Linked DNA regions of Homo sapiens: region 2 is linked to region 1. Evidence: promoter capture Hi-C in 16 types of primary human blood cells and fetal thymus (Javierre and others, 2016). All regions are on one chromosome and are shown on one strand. The core of a region is centred on a gene start or on the middle of the fragment in contact, and the rest is flanking DNA. Distances in the headings are between cores, read along the strand shown.

The links. Contacts are between HindIII fragments. The CHiCAGO score rates a contact against its expected background, and 5 or more counts as called.
Region 2: a fragment that was not itself captured here is called in contact with the fragment with the promoter of DRC11L in region 1 in 1 of 17 cell types (M1 macrophages); the score reaches 6.3 in M1 macrophages.

The regions. Positions count from the first base shown.
Region 1 is chr7:151,204,004-151,207,692 of GRCh38, forward strand. It overlaps DRC11L (dynein regulatory complex subunit 11 like), which reads right to left and starts at 1,493. Exons shown (of 19, transcript NM_001304419.2): 1 at 1,441-1,493; 2 at 506-833. The coding sequence starts at 1,451. The HindIII fragment of the contact is 18,375 bases long and covers 1-1,702 here.
Region 2 is chr7:150,924,351-150,928,265 of GRCh38, forward strand. No RefSeq gene overlaps it. Among named protein-coding and RNA genes, the nearest start is that of KCNH2, 52 kb to the right of the region's middle. The HindIII fragment of the contact is 478 bases long and covers 2,028-2,505 here.

The sequences.
Region 1 (3,689 bases), core at 243-2,742:
CCGTGCACACAGATCACTGGAGGGTCTTGATAAAAATGCAGGTGCAGATTTAGTGAGTTAGGGATTCAGAGTTTCTCATTTGTGATGTCAATGCTGCTGGTCCAGGGACCACACTTTGAGGAGGCTCTAAAGGACTCTCCTCACCAATTCCCTGCGGTTCGTGGGTCTTCCCAGTCATGCAGGGGACCTCACCCTGACTCCATCCAACCTCTAAGTACCTCCATGCACACCCCCCACCGCCAAGGTTCCTGAAGCCCTTCCTACAAGGCCAAACCCCATCCTCTGATCTTCTCTGCCCTCCTTCCTTTCCTAGCAGTTGTCCCAACACCAGGGATATCCGTGGGGTGGCGGGTAGGCAGGGGTGGTCGGCCCCATCCCTACCCCACCCGACCCCAAGCTGGCCAGGGCGTGGCTCTGTGTCCCAGGTGGTCAAGGCCGGTCCCACCCCACCTCTCCCCTCCCGCTAGCTGGCTGGGGGCGTGGCTTCGCGGCTGCGCACACGTACTGGGGTGAGCTTGAAATCCTGCAGCACGCGGTCCAGGCAGTGGTTCTCACACAGGTCGGCGCGCACCAGCTCGTCCTTGAGCTCCAGCACGCGGCCCGCCACGCCGTCCAGCAGGCGTCGCAGCAGCCGCCGCTTCTGCGGCTGCACCATCTGGTCATAGACGGTGTCGAAGCGGCGCAGCAGCCCCAGGTAGTGCAGGTAGAGCGATGCGAGCCTGTACTGGAAGGACTGCCGCTCCCGGTCGGGCGCAGGTTCGAGCAGAAGCTGCTCTTGGTCCAGCAGCTCCTGCAGGGTCGCGTGGGAGGACTCCCAGAGGCGCTGGTAAGCTCTGGGGAGAGGGTGGCGGGCGCCGCGTGCTCTGAGCCACGGAGGAGTGGGGAGACGGAGCAGCCTGGCCTTTTGAGGAGTGTGGGCTCGGGGTACCAGAAGGTGTGATGTCACTCATGGCTCCTAAATGGACTTCAATGAGGTAAGGAGCCCGCAGGGCAATGAGTGGACACCGACCTGGTCTTAGGGAGAGTGTGGGATTGGGCTCCGCTGTAGGATTAGCAGAGAGAATGGGCATGACCTTTGGGGGTTTGGGGGAAAGCCAGCCCAGGCTTGGGGCTCTGGTAAGGAAGGGGTCTTTGGGAGTCAGGGGCAGTGGGGCCCTCCAGGTGTGGGGCAGCCCACGGATGCTGCAGTGATCTGGGCTGGTGGATGGGAAGTGGGGGTGAGGGATGAATGTGGAGGAGGGACCCTTCCCCAAGCAGAGCCCTGGTTCTGGAATTAACCATCGGAGGGAAGTTTCCACAGTGAAAGCTGCCAGGGCAGCAGCAGCAGCTGGGGTGGCCCAGTGCCCAAACCGCCACTCTGCCCCTGCCTCTCAGGACTAAGGAGATGCTCTGCCCTTTGCTGTCTCTGCCCTGGGAGCCCCACTCCAGCCCCTCACTCACCCCTCAGACATTGTGTCCACTCCTCCACGCTGCCCCTTGTTTGCTGGTGGTGGAATTCACAGAACCTCTGTGGCTCCCTGACTTCCAGGGCCACAGGGCAGAACAGCCTGTTTTTAAGAGTTCTGACCCATTGTACCAGTGTTCTAGGGCTGAGGCGAGGGGGCTGGTGGGTGCAGAATCGGGGACATTTATCTCGGAGGACGTCCTGGGAGCAGCGCGCTGAAGGGACTGTGGGTGGGTGGCTGCAGGCTCCCGCAGAGCAAGCTTTGGAAGCTTAGGGCAGAACATGTTGTCCAACTTTGGCCATTTTTCTTGTAAGGAACAAGTAAAATAAGTTTCTATTTGAAGTCCCCTGAAAGCTTTGGCGCTCTGGATACATCTGTCCTAAAGACATTACCCCCTAACAAGGCATCACCGCAGCTTCTCACTCTCAGCGGCCTCTGTTCCTTCTCTCAGCCCCCGCCTCCTGAGCCCCACAGCCCTCCTTCACTCTCTGGATGACAGCACGGGGAAGCCCATGTGGTGGAGGGGAAAGGCACTGATTTGGAGTCAGAAGGCCCTGAAGTCCCAGTTGCCCCCTTGGGTGAAAGTGAGCATAACCATGCTTTCCTCCCTGGGGCCTGCCAAGAGTTCACACCATTCCCATGAGCCAGACCCGTGTGAAGCATCATGCTAGAAAGTATAGTGGATGCTGTTCTGCATGCTTGGGGCTTACTTGGTCACCTGTGGGTACCACCTCCCGTCACTGCTACAAGTTCAGGAGATAATTTTTCCAAAAAGACAAAATATTATACCACTAGCAGCCTGAGGCTGGTCAGCTGGGGTGAGCTTTTTGGCTCAGTGTCACGTCGAGGCTTATGAATAAGTAAATCTAAGAGGAACAGGGCCAGGGAAACGGACAGAAGGGAGATAGCGGCAAGGAGGAGCAAAGAGGAGGAACTCGAAGGTGCCTATGAGCTACCTGAGGGTCTCATTAAAATGCAGATTCCAGGCTGGGCGCAGTGGCTCATGCCTGTAATCGCAGCACTTTGGGAGGCCAGGGCAGGCGGATCTCCTGAGGTTGGGAGTTCAAGACCAGCCTGGCCAACATGGTGAAACCCCATCTCTACTAAAAATATAAAAATTAGCCAGGCCTGGTGGCACATGCCTGTAATCCCAGCTACTCGGGAGGCTGAGGCAGGACAACCGCTTGAACCTAGGATGGGGAGAGGTTGCAGTGAGCAGAGATGGCACCACTGCACTCCAGCCTGGACAACAAAGCGAAACTCTGTCTCAAAGATAGATAGATAGATAGATAGATAGATAGATAAACAGATTCTGCTCCAGATCTGAGGGGGGACCCAAGAGCCTGCCTTTCTAACAAGCTCCCAGGTGCTTTGGCTCCTGCTGGCCCGGGTCATGCCTGGTAGGGCAAGGTGTGAACACAGGGCAGAGTGGGCAGGAGTGAGACTTTGGGGCCAGATCTCCTGGGCCTGCCTCTTGCTAACTGTGAATGTAAACGTGGATCATTAGTCCTCAGCTCACAGAACCTCAAGGTGAGGCTCGAGGTATGAGAAAATACACGTGACCTAGGTAGCTGCCGCTGAACGTCAGCTATTACTACAAGGCGATGCCTTTTCAATATGTGGAGATGAAGGAGACCACAAGCCAGGTCTGTCCAATTACAAACGGCACAAAGGATTGGAGGTTTGTCTAAATCCCACCCCTTCATCTTGTCCAAGCTTGGAAGAGGATTTATGGGTCATGTGCCCACAAGATAAGCAGAGGCTGCATGAGACAGGAAAAGCAAGTGGTTAAGTGGTGAGCAGTAAATCTAGGTAAGGACATAGGCGTGGCCGTGGTGCTTCTTGCAGTTTTTCTGTGGGTTTCAAATTTTTCCAAATAAAATTGGTGATGTTAGGAGTTTCAAAAACATCCCCACTGATTTGTTCCGAAATAAAGGGGAAACTGAAAAATCATACTGATCTCAGCAGGTTATTTAGAAGCCGATCTGGGCCTTCAGTTTTTATATCTTGAATAGATCTGTGTGGCCCCTTCACACAACAGTGCCTGTCGTACAGGATGCAATGACAGTTGGTGGGAAATGACATCGCGAAGACACAGCCTGAAAGAGGACCATACAGGAGGAATTTCAGGCCCCAAGAGGGAATCAGCTGGCGGTAAATCCAGATGCTAGTCCAGTCCCAGGTCCTATTTCAGCTCACTACCAAATAGAACATTCGCATGTTTACAAAGCTATCACACGTTGC
Region 2 (3,915 bases), core at 1,017-3,516, 280 kb before region 1:
TATATGTATATATGTCCCCAAATCACCACATAAAAGAGAACAGAACCAGAATAGCAAAACCAAAACCCTTCCTGAAAACGTTTCCTGTTGTAGATCTATGGAGAATATCTACAACAAATCTGGGTGACAAGGTGTCCCCACAAACTCACAAACCCAAATTATGAATGTGTCCGGGCAAACTGCTGATAGCTTCAAGAGCAGCGTGATGTAAACAGTTGTGTAGGAAAGAGGAAGAGCAGGAAAAACAGCTGGGCCTCTGCTGGGCCCGGGGATCATAACAGCACAGCCCGTCTGGTGCGTGTCCAGGGACTCCCTGCAGGCCTGTCGGAGCGCAGCTGCCAGCACCGGGCAAGGGGTGTGTAGGTGCCGAGTCAGAGGTGAGAACAAGGGGACCTCAGTAAGATGGAACTGTGCTGGAGTGACCTGGACCCTGGGAATTCAGCACACTGACACACCACAGCTGCCTTCTGAGTCCAAATCTTGCACTGGGGAAAAACTGCTGAGAAAAGAATGTGAATTGATTGGGTTGGGGTCAATGGGGACAAAGAGAAGACAAGGCCCAGTTTAAAGTGAGGAGGAGATCAAAGGAGAGAGAGTGCTCAGAATGTGGGGTTCGTATCTTCTAACCCCGAGTGAAAGAACAGAAATCAGACTCTAGAGTCATAAAGTCCAAAAAAAGTTATCCTAGCCCAACCTTCTTCCCTAAAAGTACAGAAAATTCATTTTACTTAAGCATGAGCAGTGGGAAATAATTTCACATAAATATCATTCTAAGTTAATTTGAGAAAAAAGCGATGAGGAGCCAAATACTATCCTGCAGACAATGAAGGCTCACCAACCAGAATGACTTGGCCAAAGCACAAACCAACACTGGCCCTTCATAGTTCAAAATGAACAAAAATACACAAAGTGATGGATGCTATGAAGACCAGCATGAGTCAGAAGTAGAAAAGATCCAAAATAAGGAAATAAAACAATAGTATGAAAAGACAGAAGAGACTCAGATGTGAAATAAAAATTATTTTAGAAATGAAGTCTAAGTTAGAAGAACTGTCGGTGCAAATAGACACAGTGGATAATGTCTTAAATGAAATAAAGGATGAAAAAAGAAAAAAGTTTTAGTTAAAAGGTATGAACAAGGCAATGAAAAGAATACAAGAGAAAGTAACAGGAGGTGGACTAAGAAGATGAAGTATTCATATAATAAAAATCCCCAAGAAGAAAACAAAAGCCACAGAACAGAATAATATGGAAAACTAAATTTAGAATTTTCCTGAAATAAAGATACTTAAAACTGCATACTGTAATGGATATGGAAGCATATTGTACAATAGGAAAGTCGTCACAGGATCACCAACAGGGACATATGCTTGTGGGACTACACACTTTGAAAAGAAAAAAATCTTTGGATGTCCAGTTTAACAGACCAAGTTACTTATGGAAGGAAGTGGAGGAAAGATTAGGTTGCATTTAGATTTTTCAATGGCCATGCTTTATGCCAGAAGACAGTGAAGTAAAATATTTTAAGTACTCAAGGAAAGACAATGTGAGCCAAGACAACCTTTAAGTGGAAAGGCTATTGACAGATCTTAGTTATGTCTGCAAATGTTGGAGAACTCAGGGAGTGTCACTCTCATGCACTTTTACTGAAGAATCCACTAAAGAACAAGCTTCAAACAACACAAATGACTGGAAAGCCGTTCATACAAGGACTGGCTGTAAGTTCAGTGCCAAGATGAAACGATAATTATAAGGGCGGTCATGTAGAAGGTGAGGGCTGTGTTCTGACACTGTAGATAGATTACAACAGTCAAAAATCCAGGAGGGAGCCCAGCATGGTGGTGGCACCTGTGTCCCCAGCTACTCGGGAGGCTGAGGCAGGAGGATCACATAAACCCAAGAATTCGAGGCCACAGTGAGTTCTGATCACACGACTGCACTCCAGCCTGGATGACAGAGAGAGACCGCATCCCTTGAGAAAAAGAAAACAGGGGAGAGAGTGGGGAAAGTAGATAAAAAGTAAAACAAGCTTGCTGGTTGCCTTATAGGTAGAAACAGAAATTCAAAGAGTATCGCTTCAGAATATATGCTGGAGCAGACAAGGGAGGGAGAAGATATTACTAACCAATTTTAATCTTGCTTGAAGTAGGGAACTAATACAAAATAACCACAACTAGGAAGCTAAAAGTGTCATATAAAGGTATTAGAATAAAGGTATTTATTAGAACAAAAATTCAAACCTTCTAAATACCAAAAGAAAGCTAAAAAAATTGATCACATTGATATATCGATATAGACATAGATATGTGCATACAATGATATGTATAATAAAACAATGTGACAACTGGGGTCAAACACATAGATCAGATCAATCAATATAATGGGGCTTAACTCAGCTGTTAGAAGAAAAAGGTATCCATATTGGCAAAAAAGGAAAAATCCAATATTATACTATATATCAGAGGCAATACTAATACAAAGAGATTGCAAAAGTTTAAAAATAAAAGCTTATCAAAATGTTCAGTATAATTGAAAGATACAACAGGCAAATAAAAATTAAAAGAAATTATGAGTCACCATCTTGATATCCAACAAGGCAGGATTCAGACCAGAGAGCATTAAATGAGACACAGAAGGAGGCTACAGAATCCCAAAGTCTGCAATCATGATGGAGATCTAACAGTAGGTGCCACTTATATGGCAGTGGCTTAGCAACAACTGTCATGAAGCAGAAAATATAAGAGATGACAGGAGAAATATACAGAAACATGTTGTTTTAAAAAAAAATAAGAATATTTAACACACCTGTCTCAATCCAAGACAAATCAACTAGATAAATAGATAAATAGATGATAGAGATAGATAGATGATAGATAGATAGATAGATAGATAGATAGATAGATAGATAGATAGATAGATAGAAGAGAGAGATGAGAGAGATAGATGGATGATTGATTGATAGATACAAAGAAAATTGATAGATGATGGATGATTGATAGATATAAGATAGATAGATAGATACATAGATACATAGATAACAGAGATAGAAAGGTGATTGATAGATGATAGGTAGATAATTGATAGATGATAGATACATAGATAGATTAGATAGATGATAGATAGATAGATAGTATGTAGAAAACAAAATCATTAAAGTAGATATTATAGGTAAATTAAGCAATGAGGGTGGATGCCGTGATGTGTCACCCAGATTGTCTTTCTGAAATAAATGTCATAATCCCTACCTATGATGGAAAGTGCCACCAGAGGATGGCCCTCTGCTGTCCGCCCTCCCATGGATTTGCCTTGGCAGGAAAAAAACTGCCTCACCAAAGGTCACACCTCCTTCCGGAGCAGCCCACACTCAGTGATGGATTAACACGGGGATAGAACAGCCAGGCCCATCATTCCTACGCAGCCTCTCTGAAGGGCCCTGCCAGCCCTAGAGGTCACTGTGGGCTCAGCTGGGCTCTCTGTTGAGGTTGAGTCACAGGCGGACTTGTCCCTCTACCCAGTCCTCCCTCTTCTCCCTCCTTCCAGTCTCTGTCTCAGAGTCTGCTCCCAGGGAATTCAACCTGTGATGGAAATATATAAATTAAAAAGACACAGATACCATTTCTCATCTATCAAATTGGGCAAAGATCCAAAAGTGTGACAGCATAGTCTGTTGGCGAGGTTAAAGAAAGAAGTATTCCCACGTTGCTGGTGGGAACTTTAGCAATATCTTACAAAATTACATATGCATTGACCTTTGACCCAGCAAATCTTGGAATTCCTCCCAAAGATATAGTAGCAAAAATATGAAAGGATGTATGCACAAGACTATGTATTGTAGCAGAATTTTGTAATAACAACAAAGGACTGGAAACAAATGGCAACCACCAGGGGACCGTTTGAGTCAGCTATATCCAAATG